4 separate regions of the Homo sapiens genome follow, and all the other regions are linked to region 2. Evidence: promoter capture Hi-C in 16 types of primary human blood cells and fetal thymus (Javierre and others, 2016). All regions are on one chromosome and are shown on one strand. The core of a region is centred on a gene start or on the middle of the fragment in contact, and the rest is flanking DNA. Distances in the headings are between cores, read along the strand shown. Region 1 overlaps LOC105373429 (a long non-coding RNA gene). Region 2 holds the start of ROCK2 (Rho associated coiled-coil containing protein kinase 2). Region 3 overlaps ROCK2 (Rho associated coiled-coil containing protein kinase 2). Region 4 overlaps E2F6 (E2F transcription factor 6).

What was found. The method cuts DNA at HindIII sites, captures the fragments that hold promoters and counts their contacts. A CHiCAGO score of 5 or more calls a contact.
Region 1: a contact is called between a fragment that was not itself captured here and the fragment with the promoter of ROCK2 in region 2, in 1 of 17 cell types (megakaryocytes). The highest score is 6.3, in megakaryocytes.
Region 3: a fragment that was not itself captured here is called in contact with the fragment with the promoter of ROCK2 in region 2 in 1 of 17 cell types (megakaryocytes); the score reaches 5.4 in megakaryocytes.
Region 4: a contact is called between a fragment that was not itself captured here and the fragment with the promoter of ROCK2 in region 2, in 1 of 17 cell types (megakaryocytes). The highest score is 5.2, in megakaryocytes.

Annotation. Positions count from the first base shown.
Region 1 is chr2:11,415,787-11,418,595 of GRCh38, forward strand. The region is part of intron 2 of LOC105373429 (a long non-coding RNA gene); the gene reads left to right. Among named protein-coding and RNA genes, the nearest start is that of LINC00570, 23 kb to the left of the region's middle. The HindIII fragment of the contact is 2,019 bases long and covers 335-2,353 here.
Region 2 is chr2:11,343,299-11,346,079 of GRCh38, forward strand. It overlaps ROCK2 (Rho associated coiled-coil containing protein kinase 2), which reads right to left and starts at 1,338. Exons shown (of 33, transcript NM_004850.5): 1 at 698-1,338. The coding sequence starts at 838. It overlaps LOC124907733 (a long non-coding RNA gene), which reads left to right and starts at 2,214. Exons shown (of 2, transcript XR_007086216.1): 1 at 2,214-2,391. RefSeq lists silencers at 653-1,382, 1,523-1,592, 1,663-1,822. The HindIII fragment of the contact is 12,622 bases long and covers 1-2,781 here.
Region 3 is chr2:11,244,443-11,247,311 of GRCh38, forward strand. All of the region lies in intron 4 of ROCK2 (Rho associated coiled-coil containing protein kinase 2), which reads right to left. Among named protein-coding and RNA genes, the nearest start is that of SLC66A3, 90 kb to the left of the region's middle. The HindIII fragment of the contact is 2,340 bases long and covers 358-2,697 here.
Region 4 is chr2:11,441,843-11,444,626 of GRCh38, forward strand. E2F6 (E2F transcription factor 6) reads right to left here. Exons shown (of 7, transcript NM_198256.4): 7 at 2,533-2,784. Among named protein-coding and RNA genes, the nearest start is that of E2F6, 23 kb to the right of the region's middle. The HindIII fragment of the contact is 7,403 bases long and covers 1-2,784 here.

The DNA.
Region 1 (2,809 bases), core at 94-2,593, 72 kb after region 2:
GGAGAGGCTTACTAAAGATTACTTGACCAATTCCTGGATACTCTACGGCACAGTTGATTATTTTGTGCTTTTCTTTTCAGATGGGAATATAAAAATGACACTGGTTTAGGTTTTCATGTTGCTTTATAAAGCCTCCCTGGTATTAAGTAGTGAGGCATGTGGTACACTTCTGAACTAGTGTTTTTTTGTTTTTGTCTTTTAAAGTCTTTCAAATACAACTCTTAGACACTATAACAAGTTTAGGAGTATTTGGGTTTTCTCTTCCACAGTGATGTTCAGCAGAGGGGAAGGAAGATCTTAGCAATACTGTCAGTGGAGGGAAGGCTAAAGTGGAAGCTTATGCTTTTCAGCTTCTATGATTTGGATGATGAGATGGCCAGGTGATTCTAATCCAGAAGTGCTTTCTAATTTGTTGTAATTACTATTGCTGTGTAACCAATTATCCCTAAACTAAGCAGCTTATAACAACCATTTGACTACCCTCACAGATTCTGTGGTCAGAAATTGGACATGGCAGTGGGATGGCTTGGGAGCCTCAGCTGGGAAGACTTAATGGCTAAGAGTGACTCAAGAGCTGGGGGTTGGAATCCCAGGAGACATCACCACTTACTGTCTGGTGGTTGATCTGGCTGTTGGGCGGAACCTCACTCAGCCAGGGCTGTTGATTAGGGAACCCACATGTGGCCTTTCCAGAAGGCCTGGGCTTCCTCACAGTGTGGAGGTTCAAGGTAGTGGTACTTTTCATACGGAGACTCATGGCTCCAAAAGCATGAGCCCCAAGGAACAGGGAAGAAACTGCATTGCCTTTTTTTTTTTTTTTTTTTCTTTTTGAGATGGAGTCTCACACTCTCGCCCAGGCTGGAGTGCAATGGCGCGATCTCGGCTCACTGCAAGCTCCACCTCCCGGGTTCACGCCATTCTCCTGCCTCAGCCTCCCGAGTACCTGGGACTACAGGCACCCACCACCACGCCCAGCTAATTTTTTGCATTTTTAGTAGAGATGAAGTTTCACCATGTTAGCCAGGATGGTCTCGATCTCCTGACCCTGTGATCCACCCACCTCAGCCTCCCAAAGTGCTGGGATTACAGGCGTGAGGCACCGCGCCCGGCCATTGCCTTTTTTAAGGTAGCCTCAGAGAGCATCACTTCTGCACATTCTATCAGTTGCAAGCAAGTCCCAAGCCTGCCTAGATTCAAGGATCCAGGACATAGACCCTGCCTCTTGATGGAAGGGTGGCAAGGTCACATTGTAGGAGAAGATGTGGGATGGGAGATATTGCCACAGTCATCTATGGAAAATACCATCTGCCATTCTAGTGAGGATGTGTCACCTCTGGGCTTTACTAACATTAGTGAAGGGACGTGCTCATCTGCCAAATGCCGTTAAAGTATTGCTGGGGCTGTAGCTCATGGCCAGTTACAGCTGCTTGGGTTTGAATCAGATCTCTCAACCAACCAACCAACCAACCAACCAATGCAGGAACCAGCCTATCTACAGCAATACCCTCTAAGAGTCAAATACTGGGCCAAGAGCCAAGTATGAATTAAAAAGGCCCCTACCCTCAAGGATCACCTGAATCTTAAATGTTAGTGTACATAGAGCTAGCTGGAGTAAAAGTTTAAACTACAGATGCCTGTCTGCCTTCCTTCATTCTAATTCAGTTGTCAGTTCCAGCTGGAGCACAGGAATCTGCGTTGTAACAAGCCCGTAGGTGGTTCTAGCATAAGAGATCCGAGGGGGGCACTTTGAGACTCACTGATCAGCAGAACTAGTGCTTTGAGACTGGGCATGGTGGCTCACACCTGTAATCTTAACACTTTGGGAGGCTGAAGCAGGTGGGTCACTTCAGGTCAGGAGTTCAAGACCAGCCTGGTCAACGTGGTGAAGCCCCGTCTCTACTAAAAATATAAAAATTAGCCAGGCATGGTGGCACACACCTGTAATTCCAGCTACTCAGGAGGCTGAGGTGGAAGGATCGCTTGAACCTGGGAGGTGGAGTTTGCAATAAGCCAAGATCATGCCATTGCACTCCGGCCTGGGCAACAGAGTGAGACTCTGTCTCAAAAAACAAAACAAAACAAAACAAAACAAAACAAAACAAAACAAAACAAAACAAAACAAAAAAAACTAGTGCTTTGGTCCAGAGAGTGAGCTTGGGTGCTTTTCATAAGTCATTAGCTTTCAGTTTGCCTGGCTTCTCTCCTTGAATCTTACTAGCTGTGGTAGGTTAGATTGTTGTGCCCGTTTTTGATTTATAGCCCGGCAGCCTCAAAACCATCCTTTTTGCCTGCTAGTGAAAATGAATCTGGGCCTTTTACATATTTTTTTTCTTCGCTAGCTGGCACAATTTTAAGCTTTGTCAGTAGAGGGCGCTAGAGAGATGCTGCAGACGAAAAACGGTTTGCTTCCTGGTTCCCACAGGCTTGACCCGCAGCCTGCTTTAAGGAGTGGCTTCTCCAGTGAACAGCTCCTAGAGCACACATAGCTTCTCAAGCACACAGCTCCTGCACAAACTGTGGTGCATCTATGCAGTGGAAAATTATTCAGCAACAAAAAAATGAGCTATCGAGCCACAAAAAGACATGGAAGAATCTTAAATGCATATTGCTAAGTTAAAGAAGCCAGTCTGAAAAGGTTACAATTGCATATCATTCTGGAAAAGGCAAAACTAGAGAGACAGTAAAAAGACCAGTGGTTGCCAGGAGTTAGGGGTAGGGAAGGGGAGATCAATAGGTGAAGCACAGGGGATTTTTAGGGTGGTGAAACTATTAGGTGTGATACTGTAGTGGTAGATACAAGACGTCATGC
Region 2 (2,781 bases), core at 88-2,587:
GCAGCCTTTACGGTGCTATTAATCTGGATTTCAAAGGTCGTTATAGGAAAGAGACGCAATGAAGAGGACAGATTTATTCCACTCCACAATTCAGACTGATTTTTTGGCTCTGGCGCAATAATCTCAGGGAATTAAATTTACAGCAATTAAAATGCACTAAATAGCAAGTATGGAATGCTCAAACGCAAGTGAAAACAGCAAAACTTTAGCTGTGTGTTCCAAGATTTCAGACTAAAAGGAGAGAGTGAGGGCGGCTCTTTGTCATGTACCCCAGTGAGTACTCGCAACAGGGACAGCATCAGGTTTCTTTCTCCCTCGCTCGCACCAAGTCCCCACGTAGCATGACACTTTCAAATCAGCTAACCTGGTGTATGAAGCATGGCCAGTCCTCCACCCACCTCCCCAGAGTGGGCAGGCGGAAGGAGAAGAGGGGTGTTTTCCTCCCAGTGCTGCAAGAAAGGAGCAGCCGGGGATGACACTGGCTCCAGCAGGAGGTAGAGGGAGGAATCAAAGGCGGGTCACTACTCTTGGAACTCGGTGACAGAATCGTTTGGTCTCCGGCCCCGGCTGCCGGAAGCAGGGCGGGGTGGGGCAAGACCTCCCCCTCCCCACGGGCGGACGGGCACGGAGGGCTGGGCGGAGAGGGGATCTGAGGTGTGAGCTGCAACGAGCAAGCTCCCAGGCCCCGGCCACCTACCAGCAAGCTCTCCACGTTGATGGGGGAGCGAGGGTCTCGGATCAGCGCCTCCAGCTTCCTCTGGCGGCTCGCGCCTGCCCCGTCCCCCGGCGCGGTCTCGGGGGCGCCGGGCATTTTCCCCGTCGGCGGGGGCCGGCTCATGCCGCCACCGCTGGACCCGCACTCAGGCTCCTCGCGCTCAGGTCCCGCAGCCTCGGGGCCTAGCACCGCCCCCGAACCACCAGCTCCGGCCGGGACTCCACCCGGGCCCACCGCCTGCCTCTAGCTCCGGCTTCGGGTCTCCAAGGCGGTCCCCCGCCTGGGGGCTGCTCCCAGGGGCCCGCCCGGCCCAGCCCGGCCCAGCCCGGCCCGGCCCTGCCGGGAGCGGCGGGGAACAGACGGCGTCCCCGCCCCTCAGTCAGATTCGCGCCGCCGGTCCGCTGGTCCTCAGCGAGTGCCCGCAGGAGTCCTCGGGCGGGAGCAGGGAAGTGGCGCCGCCACCGCCGCGGCCCGGACCGCCCCGCCCTCTGGGGCCCCGGGAGGCTGAAGCCCAGGCCTGGGCCACTACGGCCGCCGCCGGCCCGCTGCCATGGTCGCCGCCGGCCGCCTTGCAGTCCCTCAGCCAGCTCCCGGCGCACACACTCCCGCGCGGCCGCCCGTCTCCGGCCGCGCGCCGCCGCTACCCACAAGCCCCTCCGCCCGCAGCCGCCGGCGCGCGTCCCCGCCGGCCCTGCGCGCGCTCCGCCCCGCCCCGCCCCGCGCACCGCGCTTCCTCCCTTTCTTTCCCTTCCTGCGTCTGTCCCGCTCCGCTTTCTCCTCTGCGCCCCTTCCTCGCCCGCCCTCGCCTCCTCCCCCTGGCGAGGTTCTCTGAGGCGAATAGCCGGGCGCGCGGTCACGGCCGAGCTCCTGCTGGGGGAGGGGAGACGCACCCAGGCCGGGTCCTTCCGCGCGCCCCCTGCCCCTCCCGCCGGACCCCGCGGACTACCCCGCGGCCCCGAGGCGGAACCCCAGACGCCGGGCCCAGCGCACCGTGCGCTGGGGGGGAGCCCGGCCGCGCCCCCCGCCGCGGCCCCCGCTGACTCAGCGCGCAGCTATGCGGGCCTCGCCTCACCCGCGCCCAAATAATAGCGACCGAGCTCGGCGCCCGCGAGGGGCCGCAGGGCCGGGGGTTTCGAGGCGAGCCTGAGAGGGGGCCCTGGGTGTCTGGGATTCCGAATTAGCGGAGGCGGGTGGAATCCTAGTCCTGGGGCAGGAGGGCCTGGGATCCTGAAAGCGTTTCTGCCCGGCTTAGACACTAACCACTTCAAGAGAACGGGAGAGCACCGGAAAAAGGCTTTCCAGCCGCAGGCCTTCGCGGGGTCTTCTCCTTTTGGGGGGCGGAAGAGGGGTGGTTATCGGGACCGTTCCGCCGCATTCCTGCCCTCTCGGCGGCCGGTGCCATCGCTTAGATCCGCCCAGGGCGCAATCCGAAAATTATGTGCCAAGAGCTATAAAACCGTTCATAGAGCCCCTTTGACCCAGTAAACCCATTTAAGGAAGTACATTTCCAAGGAAATGATCCAAAGGGCGAAGAAGGGGGAGAACTTGCAGAAAGATGTTAACAGCAGGGCTATTCACAATGTTCGTGATGACCAAAACCTGGGAATGGGCCCAGTTGTCCAACAATTGAGTAACCCAAACAGGCGCCTTCACATTAACAGCAAGAATCCTGGCAGGTATGCAGACTGTGTCAAACATGAAATTTTGGCAAGTACATGAGAAGGTATATTAGAAATAAATGAAACAAAAAAAATCGTTTGTACACACTAAAACTATGTAAAATGAGCAGCTATAAGAACCAGAGAATACAGTACTTCTTAAATAAATGGGATTTTTTTCTGTAAAGATACTTAAGAACAAATTAAATTTCAAAAAATGGAAAAACCACTCCGAAAAGCAACAATCTGATATCCATTAAGTAATAAGAATGTTAAGAACTGTCTCCCTGGCATGTCAGAGATAAACCCGAAGATAGGGTGAAGCCCCAGCCCTGTAAAAGTTGCATTTTGATCCAAACCATTGGATTAGTTGGAGCCTCTTCTTTGGTTTTAGGTTAGTTAAAACCA
Region 3 (2,869 bases), core at 278-2,777, 99 kb before region 2:
ATCATAATACATTTTTAAAATGGAAAAATGTATCATTAGGCTGGGTGCAGTGGCTCATGTCTATAATAATCCCAGTGCTTTGGTAAGCAGAGATAGGAGGAATGCTTGAGGCCAGGAGTTCGAGACCAGCCTGGGCAACATAGTGAGACCCCAATCTTTACCAAAGATGAGCCAGGGCATGGTGGTACATGCCTGCAGTACCAGCTACTTGGGAAACTGAGGTGAGAGGATTGTTTGTGCCCAGGAGTTTGAGGGTGCAGTGAGCCATGACCTTGCCACTGTACTAAATACAGCCTGGGCAACAGAGTGAGATCCTGTCTCTAGAAAAAAGAAAAAAAAAAGAATTTTTTTCTAGAAAGCTTTGCAAGTAAGTTCATTCAAGCCTCATGAAATGAATAGTTTATATTTTATATAAACTGTATCAAAGCACAGAAAAAAGTAGTATGCTTCCCTATTATGTCTATTAGAGTAGTCTTACCGTAATAAGAAAACCAAGAGCCCATGTTTAAATAATTAAATTAAATTAAAGGTCAAATCTCATTATGCACATAGATGCAAAACTACTTAACAAAATATTAGTAAATCAAATTCAGTATCCCACTTTTAAAAATCACATTATTGCAAATAGCATTTACTTTAAATTTTACACTACTTTGAAATCTTTTTCAGTGCACTATAAAAGATTAGCATATTTCATTTGCTTACTAATTTATATTCCTTATACATTAGCAATGAAATTTATATTCCTTATACTTTGCTTGATGTATAAAATATAAATTATATTATAAATCATGTATTATTTATAAAATTATATTATAAATTTATAAAAATATAAATTATATTTTAGGCTTAATGTATAAGGAATATAAATTATTAATAAGCATATGAAAGATGCTGAATCTCGTAAGTAATCAAGGAAGTACAACTTAACACAGTTAACACCTTATTTCTCAAGCATGCAACTAGTAAAAATTTAAAATAGTTACAATATCAAGTATTTGCTAAAACTGTGGTGAAAGAGAACATCTATTGTACAAAGATAATGTAAACTTGTAAAGAAAAATTTTTTAACAAAGCAATCTGGTGCTATCAATCAAAATGTCAAATGTGCATACCATCTGACCTAGCAATCCCAATGCTAGGAATCTATTGTAAAGAAAAACTCACACATGTATAAAAGACAGACCTACAAGCACAGTTAATTACACATCAAGAGCAGCAAATGTTTAAGATAGGTCTGGAGCACCCTGTTACATCACATTGCAAGCAAGCTATCAAAGATTATTAAGGCTTCGTTAAAGGTTTCAGAAACCAACCTCATTCTGATCCCACTGGTCAAAGGTACCACAATTTGAGCATCAATAAGATATTCAAAGGACTGAAACATATCACACAGGTTTTAAGTCCATGAGTTCAAACTGATTCTCCCCCAAAATTGGTCACCCTTATTTTGAAAACTGGTAAATACAATAAAAGAATAAAGCATTTATCCTGTCCTTCCAGTGTGAACTGCACCCTGAGTAACTTAACAAGTAAACAGAGAAATATTTTTCTTCACAGAAGTATTCCAGTCACTATAACCAAGGAGGAATGATTGAACTGAAGTATCATTTGACAAATCTTAATAAATGATATATCAAGACACTGAGCACAAATAGCTGGTAACACACCAGATAACCAGACATTAGTCTTCTTATAGGTGGCCTATGAACCTGGCCTATGAAGTAGTCCTATACCGTCCCCTTCCAAAGTGGAACCTGAATCTGATCAAGCCTCTATATCTAACAACCAATTTACAAAAATACAAGTGAGAGAGAAACATGTTAAACTACACCACAAGAAGAGATCAGCAAAATCTAGGTTTCTTCAACCTGGGGACAAAAGTAAATGAAAGAAGAGGGAAACTCTCTACATTGAGAGATTTAAAAGATATACCTGAACTTAAATTTTTTTTTAATGCCAAAACTAAACTAAGGTGTTTAGGGGTACACATCTGGGTGATAAAACTACAAAGGAAAGCAAGGAAGCATTTGCCATAAAAATAACAACACTAGAAAAACACAGCAAACTGGATATATAAATGGCTTTAAAAAGACAAAGTCCTCTCTACCCGCAAATGAATAAAAGTTTTTAAAATATGTCAATATTTATCTATTGAATTCAGAAATCACCCTAATAATATATTTCTAAGAAATACAGATAGGCCCAAGATTTAACCTATTACTGTGGCTAATTTATATTAACAAAAATGAAAAGTGATATTTCTAACAAAAGTATAGTAACTGTGGGGGTATTAATACAATTAAATATTTAATAGTCATTTAAAAATAAGAGCTGAGATTTGGAAAACTGAAATAGTCCAATAAAATTAATTATAGGCATATCCAATGACTCATTAATTTCACTGCAATGTAGATTCCTAAAAGAAATGTGTGAACATATGTACCAAAATCCTTATGAAAGAACACTCAAAGCAGCATTATTCATTATAGTCAAAAAGGAGAAACAACACAAATGTCCATTAAGTGATGAATGAACGAAGTGTGGTACAACCATGTAACAGAATACTATTTAACCATAATAAGAAATTAAGTGTTGATACATGCTATAACATGAATGAATGAATGTCAAAACATTAGGCTAGGTGAAAGATGTCACAAAAGACATACATACATGTTGTGTGATTGATTTATAGGAAGCTTTCAGAATAGGCAAATCCATAAAGACATAAAATAGAATAGCAGTTGGCAGGGGCAGGGGGGCAGGTGGAATTGGGGGAATAAATGCTAATTGGTCCAGGGCTTCTTTGGAGGGTGAGAAAAATGTCCTAAAATTAGGTAATGGTGATGGTTGTACAACTCTGTGAAAA
Region 4 (2,784 bases), core at 106-2,605, 99 kb after region 2:
ATCACGAGAACAGGATGGAGGAAACAGCCCCCATGATTCAATTTTCTCCATCTGGTCCCTCCCACAACATGTGGGGATTATGGGAACTATAATTCAAGATGAGATTGGGGTGAGAACACAGCCAAACCATATCATTCTGTCCCTGGCCCCTCCCAAATCTCATGTCCTCATAATTCCAAACATAACCCTGCCCTTCCAACAGTCACCCAAAGTCTTAGCTCATTCCAGCATTAACTCAAAACTCCAAGTCCAAAGTCTCATCTCAGACAAGGCAAGTCCCTTCCACCTATGGGCCTGTAAAACCAAAAGCAAGTTAGTTACTTCCTAGATACAATGGGGGTACAGGGATTGGGTAAATACACCCATTCCAAATGGGAGAAATTGGCCAAAACAAAGAGGCTACGGGTGCCATGCAAGTCCGAAATCCAATACGGCAGTCATTAAACCTTAAAGTTCCAAAATGATCTCCTTTGACTCCGTGTCTCCCATCCAGGTGATGTTGATGCAAGAGGTGGGCTCCCATGGCCTTGGGCAGCCCCACTCCTGTGGCTTTGCAGGGTATACCCCCACCCCCACCTTGGTTACTTTCACAGGCTGGTGTTGAGTGTCTGGGACTCTTCCGGGTGCACAGTGCAAGCTACCATTCTGGGGTCTGGAGGACGGTGGCCCTGTTCTCACAGCTCCACCAGGCAGTGCACCAATCGGGACTCTGTGTGGGGGATCCAACCCCGTATTTCCCTTCCACACTGCCCTAGCAGAGGTTCTCCAGAGAGCGAACTTCTGCCTGGACATCCAGGTGTTTCCATACATCCTCTGAAATCTAGGCAGAGGTTCCCAGACCTTAATTCTTGACTTCTGTGCACCCATAGGCCCAACACCATGTGTAAGCCAAGGCTTGGGGCTTGCACCCTCTGAAGCAACAGCCTGAGCTTTATGTTGGTCCCTTTTAGCCAAGGCTGGAGCTGAAGAAGCTAGGATGCAGGGCACCATGTCCCAATGCAGCATAGAGCGGGGGGTGGGGGGGGGGCCCTTATAGGCCCCCAGGCTTGTGATAGGAGGGGCTGCTGGAAGGTCTCTGACATGCCCTGGAGACATCTTCCCCATTCTCTTGGTGATTAACATTTGACGTTACTTATGCAAATTTCTGCAGCCAGCTTAAATTTCTCCCCAGAAAATGGAGTTTTCTTTTCTATCCCATCATCAGGCTGCAAAATTTTCCAAACTTTTATGCTCTGCTTCCTCTCGAACACTTTGCTGCTTAGAAATTTCTTCTGCCAGATACCCTAACTCATCTCTCTCAAAGTTCCATGCATCTCTACGGCAGAGGCAAAATGCTACCAGTCTCTTTCCATAGCAAGAGTGACCTTTACTCCCGCTTCCAATAGGTTCTTCATCTCCATCTTGACCACTTCAGCCTGGACTTCACTGTCCATATCACTATCAGCAATTTGTCAAAGCTATTCAACAAGTCTCTAGGAAGTTCTAAATGTTTCCCACATTTTCCTGTCTTCTTCTGAACCCTCCAAACTGTTCCAACCTCTGCCTGTTACTCAGTTCCAAAGTTGCTTCCACATTTTTGGGTATCTTTACAGCAGCACCCCACTCTCTGTGGTACCAATTTACTGTATTAGTCCATTCTCAAACTGCTAACAAAGACATACCCAAGGCTGGGTAATTTATAATGGAAACAGATTTAATTGACTCATAGTTCAGCATGGCTGGCTCAGGAAACTTACAATCATGGTGGAAGAGGAAGCAAATACGTCTTTCTTCATATGGTGGCAGGAGGGAGAATGAGAGCCGAGCGAAGGGAAAAGCCCTCTATTAAACCATTAGATCTCGTGAGAACTTACTATCACGAGAACAGGATGTAGGGAAACAGCTCCCATGATTCAGTTATCTCCACCTGGTCCCTCCCACGACACATGGGGATTATGGGAACTGCAATTCAAAATGAGATTTGGGTGGGGACACAGCCAAACCCTATCATACACTACATTAATATGAGAAATACCTATTAAGACATGAGCTTACACTCTGACAACATGGAATGGCAGCTGGGAACGTAGCCGCAGCAACTTATGAGGAAGGAAGATGGCCACCTGCGTGCTGTGTATAAACTGCATGCAGGGTAGGAGTAAAGGGGAGGCATGGGTGAAGCCAGGTCCAGAATAGGGATGCGATTTTGAAACACAGAGAACAGGAAGAGGATAGGATAAGAGCAAAGGCAGGGAGATGGGAAAGTTCACTGTGTGCTTCAGGTAGCGATGAGACCAATTTACTGGGGTGAAGGTCTGCAAGGCAGGTACCAAGGCAGGATTGGTAAGCAAGCCTTGGGCCCTTCTATATCCAGAGTCTGCACTTCGGCCTGAAGGAAACACGGATCGCTCAAGGTTTCTGAAGGAAGAAGCGGTGCGCACAGAGATGGGACAGTGAGGTTGGAAAGGTTAGGGTTAGTGAGGAGGAGGGGCCCAGAAACGAGTTCATGCTTATTTTATCCGTTTTAAGAATCAGAGACCCAACGCCAGAAGATGGAGTGACTCGAGAGATACTTCATTTATAACACACATCTGTAATTTACAAAGGATTTTCGTTTACATGATCTCATTTTACCTTCAGAACAATTTGTAAAGGAGAACATTTGCCACATTCACAAGTTAAGGAACTGCTGCTCAGAAATGATGGTATTACCTTTGGTAAAACCTTTGTTGGTTTTTGGGACACTGCCTTCTCCCTCCCCACCCGCCCCATTATTCCTTCTCAGGAGACTTCTTCTGTATTTCT